4 separate regions of the Homo sapiens genome follow, and regions 1, 2 and 3 are each linked to region 4. Evidence: promoter capture Hi-C in human tissues and cell types (Jung and others, 2019). All regions are on one chromosome and are shown on one strand. Each heading gives the region's core, a stretch centred on a gene start or on the middle of the fragment in contact. The rest is flanking DNA. Distances are from core to core; before and after follow the strand shown. Region 1 has its middle 93 kb from the start of LINC02063. Region 2 has its middle 14 kb from the start of IRX2. Region 3 has its middle 270 kb from the start of LINC02114. Region 4 holds the start of IRX1 (iroquois homeobox 1).

Region 1 (2,700 bases), core at 143-2,642, 630 kb before region 4:
AGGAAGGGCAGGGTTGGCGGGGGGTGCGAGGAAGCAGTGGAAACAGACCTCCCAAGTGGACAAGTGGGATCACATTGTCACCTCCCCTAAGGAATGCAGATGAGTCTGCCCTCTAGCAAGGCATCTTCACCAACAGAGGGACCTGAGTGTGTCCAGGGACAGGCCAGTGGAGAGCACTTCCTTCCGTGTCCTGCGCCCTCTGTACCAGGAGTCACTGAGTAGGAGGTGCCAATGGTTGATTTTCTCCTCTTTGGTCCCTACATGCCCATCCCAGCCACCCGGGCTCCCAGGTTCCTGTTCCTGATGACAGCATCCAGAGAGAAGTGACCTGGGAATTGTAGCCTTGAGAAAGGACAAGAGGCTGCTGCTGTGACCATGGCTGGTCCTGGTGTGTGGCCACCCATCCCCTTTCACAGTCTTGTCCACTCAAGGAACCCAGGTTCCCTGCCACCCATGTCTGGCCTTGTGCCGAGAGCTTTTCTGATGACCCTGTGCAGCCTGCTTCTTCCTGTCCCAGGGCACAGCTGATTCAGGGGGCACACGTCCTGGGTGACAGTGTTTCTAGCTTTCCGGACTCTGTCCTGCTCCCTTCTGTTACAACAACCATTGCAGATCCTCACTTCATGTCCACTCGCTTTGCCTCATAAGTGGCTTTTCACCAGGACTAACTAGGTCATGTGAGAATGCAGTAACGGCCCACTTCTTCTGAAGGTGCACTTAATGCCAGTCATTCTGTTCCGCACAGTTTGACCATAGCAGAGCCACTCCATTGAGCTCATTTCCAAGAGATAACTAACTTAGGCACGTGTATTTGGCTTAGGAGGCCAGGGGATTTAGACTTCTGGTAATGTTGGTACCATGCTTTTAATTCTTTATTTGAAAGTGATATCAAAGTGCTTTGCATACCATTAATTTGAGTTTAATACGTACATTATCTTAATATTTTAGATGTTTAAAATATGCTCCATGTTGGTACTCTCTCAATGAATTTTCTTTAAGTGTGGTGGCTGCAGAGAGAGTCTTCAGCACACACATGCCGTCATGATCTTGTTAGTGGTGAGGAATAGTGTCTGACATCTGCTGAATTCTCACCACTTGCTGGACACCATGATCAGTGCCCTCTGTCATGAGCTTATCCTCCCCAAACCGTGAAAGGTCAAGAGTTACATGCTGCTTGGAGCATTAGAGTGAGTTCTTTTTTTTTTTTTTTTTTTGAGATGGAGTCTCCGTCACCCAGGCTGGAGTGCAGTGGCGCAAACTTGGCTCACTGCAAGCTCCACCTCCCAGGTTCACGCCATTCTCCTGCCTCAGCCTCCTGAGTAGCTGGGACTACAGGCGCCCGCCACCACGCCTGGCTATTTTTTTTGTATTTTTAGTAGAGACGGGGTTTCACTGTGTTAGCCAGGATGGTCTCGATCTCCTGACCTTGTGATCCACCAGCCTTGGCCTCCCAAAGTGCTGGGATTACAGGCGTGAGCCACCGCGCCCAGCCTAGAGTGAGTTCTGAAGTCAGGAGCACGGGACTCCAGACTGGGGAACTCCAGCTCAGATTCTGCCCCTGTCTCTGTGGAAAGGGATGCAGGTGGTCGTTATTCACCTGTCTCCCAGGAAGACCGGAAACCACAGAGAGCCCATGGGTTCATACGCAACCAGGCATCCAGGATGGTTCTCACTCACTGGTTTGTTATTTCTAGGACACAAGCCCCCGGGCCAGGCACTGTAGTCATAAAGACTTTTTAGTCAAATGTCTCGTCCGAGGGGACATGCATTTTAGCTGTGCATCAGAGATCAGCTCCTCTATAAAGTGGGGTAACCTGGGGTTAAGGGCTTGAATTTTAAGCTAGGAGGACTTCTGAGCTATATGCTCTTCAGCAAATGACTTTACTTCCTGATATAGTTTGGATGTCCCTCCAAATCTCATGCTGAGATGTAATCCCCAGTGTTGGTGGTGGGGCCTGGCTGGAGACTCTGGGGGATGGGGGCAGATCCCTCATGGCTTGGTGAAATAGGAACATGAAAGACAAATAGACGTAGTTGCTGGTGAGAAATACATTAAGGGTATTCTTGAGTTTTTACTGAGTTCCGCTAGGTTTCTACCTAAGCTCAGAGACTGAGTCTGCATGTAGAAACGTACATAACCTGAGACCAGCGGTGGTTGTCCTTGTGCCAAGACAGATGAAGAAATGCATTTTCTGCTCAAATTTTATAAGTGTCTGTGTTCTTAAAGGCTATAATCTGCATGGGGAGAAGGTCCCATTACCACTTTTTCTCACTCTTTCTAGAGTAGGAGACAGTGATGTTCAGGGAAAGACACTGAGCTGGAGGTTACTGAAATCAGGACTCAGAGGCAGGCAGGTCTCAGCTGGAGGCAAGACTGAAAGCTTTAGCCGTGTCTCCAATGTGCATGTGATTAAATGTTATTTCATCAATCATCTGACATTTGATATAAAAATACAGAACAGAAAACAAAAATAAAGTGTATTTCTGGAGGCTGTTTGTGATCTCAAAGTCCTTTGATGCTGTAAAGTTCTGATTCCTTACAGTTTTCTGCATATTAACTCTGCACAACCTCTAGACCTTCATTCCTGGGAGGCGAAGGGTTTCTATAGAATGAGCAACGGGCTCCAGCACTGAGAGCCGCCACCTCTGCCCACCTACTCCACTGGGTGGAAGTCCACGAATGGACCTAGGGTGTTTTGT
Region 2 (2,700 bases), core at 115-2,614, 860 kb after region 4:
CCATTGGCTTCACCCTCCGCGACCTCTGGCGGCCCTGACTGGGGCTCTGGGAGCGGGTAGTTCAGGTGGAGGGTCTCTGGAGCCACACACCTGGCCTCCCGCAGGTGGGGAGACGGTCCCGGAGGCACAGGAGGAGGGAGGCCCAAGCGTGCGGCTGGGGGTGGTGAGGGTCAGATGGGGAGGGGTGGGTGCTTTGTAACCTTTGGGGTCCTGGGCCCTGTGATGAGCCCCATCCTTTCTGCCATTGGACTCGGGGTCACTGTACAGCCCTGGTGGAGAGAGGGTGAAGGCTTCCCTGGGAACAGCCCACTGAGCCCCAGAGGCCAGGGGACCAAAGAGGCGGCCGGGAGGACAACTCGGCCCAAGCGGGGAACAGGGGGGCGAATCAGGCTCCTTGGTACCCAGGATGACGTTAGTTTATTTAAATAGGAGGCCATGGCCCGTCCAGGTTTATTCTCCCTGGCTCTCAAGCAATGGAAAAACAATTTGTTTTATAATGCTAATGTAATACTCAACTCCTCAAATAAAAGTGCCCTTCATGATAATGGGCCCAGATATAAACAGAAGCGGCTGAGAGGGCCCAACCTGCTTCTTCCAGGCAGGCCTGTGACCGGGAGGGGGCTGAGTCCAAGCCCAGAGGAGAGAGACAGTTTGTTTAAAATTTCTATGGAGCTGGACTGTTTTATAAAGGAAGGGGCTGAGTTAAGGCATGCTTTGAAAGAAGACAAACAGACTTTGCAGGAGCTAGACCCTCAAATGAGTTATATTTTAAACAATTTACTGACTTTATGATCTTTAAGCAGAAGCAAATAACACATTCAGGTGCACAGCCGATGCACCCCAACTTTCCAGTGCAAACAAGGCCGGGAGGAGTGGGAGGAGACCTGTCAGCAGGCAGGACAGGTGGGCTGTGGGCTGCAGGGGGTGGGCAGGGGGACACCCCCAGGCCAGGGGTTCCCTTAACCTGGCTGTTACTTTGACGTCAGGAAAAGCCCCTGGTGAAAAACTTCTCTGGTGGGTGAAGATCAGTGATGGCCCGAAATCATCTCGGTGTTCTGAAGCCTAGGAAAGCTGTTGGCCTGGCACCGGGGCCACTTCCTACAAGAACTGGCAGCCTCAGGCGGAATGTTTGAGGGCAGGTAATGACTACTACGGGTAGACATGAGATGGAGTACGATGGGTGAACACCCAGGCATGGTCCACAGCCCTGTCTTTGGACAGTTGCCCTACAGGACAGGCAGGAGATGGGGCTGGGGAAGTGGGTGCTCACCATCGACTCCTGTGATCTTGGTGGAGAGGACAGCACTCGAGACCTGCTAGTGGGGCTCATCTGAGTGGGCCAAATGACTGCCCCTGAAAGCCCATCTCTTCCATGTGCCACCGGGCCCCACGTAGCAGGCTCTGCAGAGGGCTTCTTGTTAGTTAGATGAAGCCAAGGAAGGCCAGCGGGCACAGAAACATGTCCAGGGTCTGCCTGTCTCCGCCCTCTGTCCTCGCCAGTCCTGTCACTTCTCTGAACCTCTGAACACTGAGCTCTTTCCTTTCTCAGCTGACCTGAACAGACTGATCCGTCTGCCTGGAAGATTCTTCTAACTCAGCTGGAGAATGGCTGCTCAATAATGCAGGTATTTTTCTGTATTTACTTGTCACTTGCTACCCACGTGGATGTTAAAGTGACCAGGAGCCACACCTGAGGCCTCTCGTGAATGAACGGAGCTACTTCTGTGTCAGGTTTTGGGGTTCCACAGGCATGAGCAGGCCATGGGTCAGGCTGGTTCTGGCATGGCTGTGGTCGGCCCACTTCCACAGACCACCACCGCATGCTGTCCATCTATCCACCGGAGATGGCCGCAGTGGGGACCAGGACAAGAGGACAAATGAGGCCCTGTGTGTCTGAACACTGACCACTTGTAAATCAGCTGCTAGATACAATGTGCTTATACACAACATGCTTATCCTCCTGCCTTGGAAAATACGTTTTCAAATGAGAGAAATCACAAAATATGTGCAAAGCATGATTTGCATGGAAGTCATCAACATATCAAAAGAGGACCAGATTTAATGATTCTTATGTACGTCTGGCATTCTATTCTGAGGGGGTAGCAATGTTAGGATTTGCAAAAAAATACAGACAGAATAATTCATAAAGTACATATTTATCCTATGAAATATTTTGCCTTTAAAAAAATAGAATCACTCCATATCCTGTAGCAATCAAGATTTTCACATAATTTGTGTTTTGACAATAGTGGTTCAAAAATTAAAAAGTGATCCTTCTCAAAGCATACATTTAAATATATCTTCATCAAAAATTGATAGCAAATCAAATGTAAGAAATAAAAATAACTAAATTATTTGTGATTTTCCAAAAAAATTTTTCTTCTAGCATATTCAAAGCTTTCTATTAAAATTTAAAGACACAATGCACACTATAACTTATCCATAAAAAGTTTTCATTAAAAAGTTTCATTATGAAGCTGAATTGTTTTAATTCTAAAAATTTAATCCCTGAGATGAAAGAGGTCTCAGAAATCGCATCAGAAGGGGCCAGGGTAGTGGGAAGGGCATACATTTGGGAGATCCCAGGTGTGAACTCAGGGCTGGAGTGCTTCACCAGGGCCCAGTGGAGGGCAAGGCTGCAGGCATCCCTGCTGAACCTCATCCTCCCACCTGCACACATCACCTACCCGAGGGCTGTTG
Region 3 (2,700 bases), core at 162-2,661, 910 kb before region 4:
TGAAAGGTCAATGAAATTCATTAACTTTTAACCAGACTGATCAGGAAAAAAAGACAAATTATTAATATTAGAAGTGTGAGAAGTGACATCACTAGAGATTCTGCAGACATAAAAACGATAATAAGAAAATGTTTGTAAAGATAAGCAAAAGAAGTGATGGCATAAATTTTGTGAATGATGCAAACTAGCAAAGCTCATTCAAGAAGAAATAAATTCCCAGAATAGTACAATTCTATTAAAGAAATTAAACTTATTTTAAAATATCATCACAAATAAAACTCTGGACCCACATATCTTTACTGGAAAATTCTATCAAACATTTCATGGAGACATAATATCAATTCTATAGAACCTCTTCCAGAAAATACAAGATAGAGAAAACTTCTCAAGTTATTTTATGAGTCCAATATTATACTTGTATTAAAACTAAATGAAAGTATTACAAGAAAAGAAAAATATAGTCTAATAACCCTCATAAATATGGTCACAAAAATATTTAACATAATAAAAGCAAATAAAATCAAGCAATAGATAAAAATGATAATGTCATAATTGAGTATGAGTCATATTTTCAACATTTGTAAATCAACCAATGTAATTTTGTATGTCAAGATGTTAGAGGAGAACACCTATATAATCACTTCCATGGAGGCAGAGAAAAATGGACAAAATCCAGTCATTCTTGATAAAAACTCAGGAAACTATCTGGAAAAGAACACTAACTTGACCTCACAAGGGTCACCTCCAAAAAAAAAAAAAAAAACACAGTTAATACCATATTAATGGTGAAAGACTGCATATTAATGCAGAAAGACCCCTAAGATTGAGAATAAAGCAAAGATGTTCTCTCCCACCACTCCTATTCAATATCTGAATTAATTTTCTATTGCTACTGCAAAAAAATTACCACAAACTTAGTGGCTTGAAACAACCTATATTTATTATTTTATATGTCTGTGGGTCTGAAGCTTGACATACTTCTTACTGAGCTGCAATCGAAGTGTCACCAGGCTGTGTTTCTCACTGAAAGTCATAGGAGATAATGCATTTGTTGCTCATTCCATTACTTGGCAGAATTCAGGTCAGGAGCCAGCTCCCGTTTTCTCACTGGCTGTGCACGGTGGGCCATTCCCACACTCAGGGGTTCCGATCCTTCTTTCTCCATGCTCAAAGCTATCCATGGTGAGCCAACTCCCCCTCACCTGCTGGATCTCTTCTCTTTGTTCATCCTTCTCACTTGTGTCATCCTACCTGAAAGGACTCCTCATTTGTAAGAACTCATGTGATTAAATTAGGTCCATGTGGATAATTCAGGATAATCTTATTGTCTCGAGGATAATCCTATTGTCCATATTCCTAAACACTCCAGCAAAGTCACTTTTACCACTCACATATTTACAAGTTCTGGGGATGAGGGTGTGAACATCTTTTTCTTTCTGCGGGTTGGAGCATTACTCTGCTTACCACAATATCATAGTGAAGGAACTCTAGTACAATGAAACTAGAAAAGAAAAACCATGAGAATTATAGAATATTGAAAGAAAGAAAGAAAATTGTCTGTACGTAGACTATATGGTTATTGGTGTCAGATGTTCAAAGCATGCACAAAAAAGCACTCCCTGATATAATACATGAGTTCAACAATATTGCTGCTTCAAAAGTCAATATACAAAAATTAATTGTATTTTTGTACATTAGCAATCCACAATTAGATAGTAATTTAAAACATATACAACTTGTAATAACACCAAAAAAACTTGAAATATTTATGTCTAGATCTAAGAAAATTTGTTTAAGATTTGTATGATGAAAATTATAAACTTTGGACAGAAAAGTCAAAGAAAGACTAAATGAAAAACAGAGTATTTATGAATTGGAAATCTGAATTTTGTAAAGATGTCAATTTCCCCAAATTACAAATTTGAAACAATTCTAACCAAATCCCTGCAGACATTTTTGTTGAAAGCAATAGCCAATTGTAAATTTTATATGGAGATCCAATATATCCATAACTGAAGTCTCCAAAATTACAAGATAAAACAATGAAACGAAAGCAAATTTTCCTTGCTGGAAGAAGGGACTTCCCAGACTTTACAAAATCTGAAGTCTTTCCCTTATTCTGCCACAGAGAAAGAGATGACCTCCTGTATATCTGCCATCTAAAAAAACATTTTTTGTGAAATGAGATTTAAAATTATGTTTTCAAAGTGCACCTTTTGAGGCCAGGAAAAATTGACCTAAAAATTGAGATCTATCTTGACAAAATTATTGTGTTTCACACACAAAAACTAAGACTTTTTTTTCTGAATGCTTACATAAACTACCAGATAAGAAATTTCAGCCAATCAAGAAATGATTATGGAAATTATATCTTCAAAAATCATCGGTCAACCTAGAAAGTATGAAGCAAAGACTACAATCACTAATCAGGGAGGCTGAACAGAATGAGAGGTTTCACAAGGAGGCTACTAGCAAAGATTGCAAGAAAAGAGAAAATGATATAATGTGATGCATAGTATACACTTTAAGAATATCATAAAGATATTTAACGCAATAATGATAATGCCGAAATAGGTAACATTATTGACTAAAATTGATGCTGATAGAGGACAATGAAGAGAAAGGAAAATGGTAACTTTATCACTGCTTTAAGAGGGGGACTATTAGAAACTGCCTAAGTAATGAAAGGATGAAAGGTAC
Region 4 (2,700 bases), core at 201-2,700:
AGGAAAATGGATGATTTGGACCGGCAGACAGGCCAATGCCCCCGCGGAGAATTAAGTGTGCAGCCGCCTGCCCCGACATCTAACGCCCACTGGGACGGGAGACTAAGAGGACACCATTTGTTTTAAGCCAAGGGACACTGTTTTCTTTAATCCTCCATTATGTAACGCAGGAAGAAAAGTGCTTTTCTTTCTGTGCAAATGAAATGAAAACTTGGGCAACTTACAAAAGTAAAATCAAACACCGTTTCAGACACCAGCACATTACTGCAACTTAATTTTTGTTTAATCTCAAATTCGCACTCACGCCGTGGAGAGACCTCTCCATCCCTTTGGACCTCTATTGTTAAGATTATTTTGATTGACTCTACCAGGCTTAGAAGGGGTCTGTCTGGCAAACTCGGATACAACTATCTCGGAGCTGCTAAAGAGGGAGAAAACCAAGTTTTCCAGACTCGGTTCGAAAACTAAAGAGGCCGCGCGAGTGGAACCCGCGGCCAGGAAGGGAAGTCCTGCTACGCTACGCCGGGCCGACCTGCAGGAACCCCGTGGGCCTGCCCGGGCGCCCTGGCCGAGCCAGGCGAGTTTGCCCCCGACCTCCAGCGCGGGCACCGCTCCACGGGCCTGCTTCTGCGGCCTCTCTGAATTCACTCGCTACCCGCTCCCTGGCCCGGGCCTTCCGCTTTCCCAGGCCGAGATGGCCCAGCCGTCACCCGCCCGGCCTCCCAGCCCTCTTGCGTCCCCGGGGGCCGCGGCCTCGGCCACCGGGAACCTGCCCCCGGACCTTTCTAGTTCCTCTTCCGGACCAGGTCCACCCGTAGTCTCTCCCTCCCGGGCGACCCGCCACCCTTGCCCTGGCGCGGGTGAGACAGAGGAGAAGCGGGGGAGGCCGGGCGCACTCACCATCTGCGAGAAGAGGCTGAGATCCGCGGCGTAGGGCAGGAAGGCGCTGTAGTTGGGCGCGCCCGCGTACGGCCCCGCCGCCGCGTACATGCCCAGCACCGAGGTGACTGCAGCCGCGCCTGCCCCGCCGCCCAGCTCCGCGGCCCCCGGTCGGCCCGACGAGGCGGCGGCAGCCGCCGCAGCGGCCGCGGCCAGCACCCCCGGGCGCTCGCCGCCGTAGGCGCCCGGCCCCGCGGCGCTCAGGTACTGCGGGTAGCCCAGCTGCGGGAAGGACATGTCCGCGGACTCGGCGACCGCCGCAGCGGGCGAGTATTAAAGGCGCGGGGAGGGAGGCGGAGGCCGGCCGGAGGGGGTTGCAGGGGGCGCCGCGAGGGGTCTAGGGAGGAGCGGGCGGCCGGCCGGGCGCGCTCGGGCGGGCCGGGAGATGGAGGCCGGTCGCGGCTCCTCTGCCCGGTGCTCGCAGGCGCCCGGCTCCCGGCTGCGCCCGGATCCGCAATCGCGCGCCGACTGCGGCGGCCGCCCTCCGCTCGGCGGCGGGGCTTTCAGACACAATTTGAAGTTGATGCTTTGATTGGCATCCCCTTGAGCGCAGGCCCCGCCCCTGGCTCCCCTCCCGCCCCCTCCCTGCCTCCCGCCCGCCCTCGCCGGCCGCTCCCGCCCCTCCCGCGAGCACGTGGTGCCCCGTGCCGGCCCGGCCAGCTACTCTCGCGGTGGGCGCGCGCGTCGGGGCGGCGGGGTGTGGGCCCGGAGGCCGTGGGCTCCTTCCCGACCAGCCCCCGCAGCTGTCTGACAACCTGTCGACACGGGTTTACAGCTGTCTGACACCGGGTTTGCAGTTTCGCGGCCGAGGTGTGTCCCCTTTTTAACAAAAACAACTTGGCGCCTGCTTTTCTACTGTTTGGGCAGCGGGGAAGGGGCCGGCGGCCTGGACGCTGGTGACAGCGAGGGGGGAGCGGCCTCTCCCCCGAGTCCCGCGCGGCCGGGGCCTCCAGGGGACATCTTTGGCAGAAGTGCACCCGGACGCTCTCCGCGAGCCACTGAACCGGCGTGGCGTGACACCCCCGACTCCAGATGCGGGTTCCCGTGGGCCCCTACTGGGTAGTAACCGATCGTCTGCCAATGACCGGCCTCGCCGCCCTTGGGGAAGCGGGGAGCGGCCGAGCTCTGCGGGCTCTTTCAATTGTGCAAACTTTGAGCGAGGGCAAATCCCGCGGAGAAGTCGCCAGCTCGGGGGAAGCAGGCGCAGTCGGCGCCGCGGGTTCTCGGAGGGAGGGGTGGGGGAGACGCGGGGGGAGGGGCTTTCTCTTCACCCAGAAAGCCCCCTGGCAGCCGGAGGGAAACATCCCCCGCGCCCCCGCGAAGGGGGAAGACGGTGTGGCCTGGACGCCCGGTTTGTCCACCAGGTGTGCAGAGGCAGACAGGAAACTTGTGTGGAACGCGCGAACCCGAGTCGGCGCCGCCGCCAGACCGGCAACGGAGCGGCCTCTTGGGTCCAAGTCCCGCGTCCCTCTTCTCCCTGCGTCTCCCCTCTCCATCCTCAGCCTCGTCGGGCTACAGGACGCGGCCAGGCGCGGCGCACTTGAGATGGGCTCCGTTTCGCCGCGGCCCTGGCCGTGCGGCTCCCGGGAGAAGATGCCAAGTGCACGGGCCTCCTCGCCTCCCTGAGCCTGGGAAGGCGCTGGCAGGCCACTTCTGCGCCTCGTGGCTGGAGAGCTCCGGACGGTGCCGTGGGGAACCGGGTACCAGTCCCGGCTCCCGGGGCCACTTTGCGAACCACCTCCTACGCAGAGACGGGGCCGG

Evidence for each region. The method cuts DNA at HindIII sites, captures the fragments that hold promoters and counts their contacts. A contact is called where the count stands out against the background at its distance.
Region 1: a contact is called between a fragment that was not itself captured here and the fragment with the promoter of IRX1 in region 4, in 2 of the 25 tissues and cell types used here (dorsolateral prefrontal cortex and mesendoderm cells).
Region 2: a contact is called between a fragment that was not itself captured here and the fragment with the promoter of IRX1 in region 4, in 1 of the 25 tissues and cell types used here (dorsolateral prefrontal cortex).
Region 3: a contact is called between a fragment that was not itself captured here and the fragment with the promoter of IRX1 in region 4, in 1 of the 25 tissues and cell types used here (lymphoblastoid cells).

The regions. Positions count from the first base shown.
Region 1 is chr5:4,226,905-4,229,604 of GRCh38, reverse strand. No RefSeq gene overlaps it. Among named protein-coding and RNA genes, the nearest start is that of LINC02063, 93 kb to the right of the region's middle. The HindIII fragment of the contact is 4,440 bases long and covers 1-2,700 here.
Region 2 is chr5:2,736,171-2,738,870 of GRCh38, reverse strand. It overlaps a transcript of IRX2 not described here. Among named protein-coding and RNA genes, the nearest start is that of IRX2, 14 kb to the left of the region's middle. The HindIII fragment of the contact is 5,452 bases long and covers 1-2,700 here.
Region 3 is chr5:4,505,669-4,508,368 of GRCh38, reverse strand. No RefSeq gene overlaps it. Among named protein-coding and RNA genes, the nearest start is that of LINC02114, 270 kb to the left of the region's middle. The HindIII fragment of the contact is 3,147 bases long and covers 1-2,700 here.
Region 4 is chr5:3,594,582-3,597,281 of GRCh38, reverse strand. It overlaps IRX1 (iroquois homeobox 1), which reads right to left and starts at 1,450. Exons shown (of 4, transcript NM_024337.4): 1 at 901-1,450. The coding sequence starts at 1,176. RefSeq lists a silencer at 1,453-1,747. The HindIII fragment of the contact is 23,247 bases long and covers 1-2,700 here.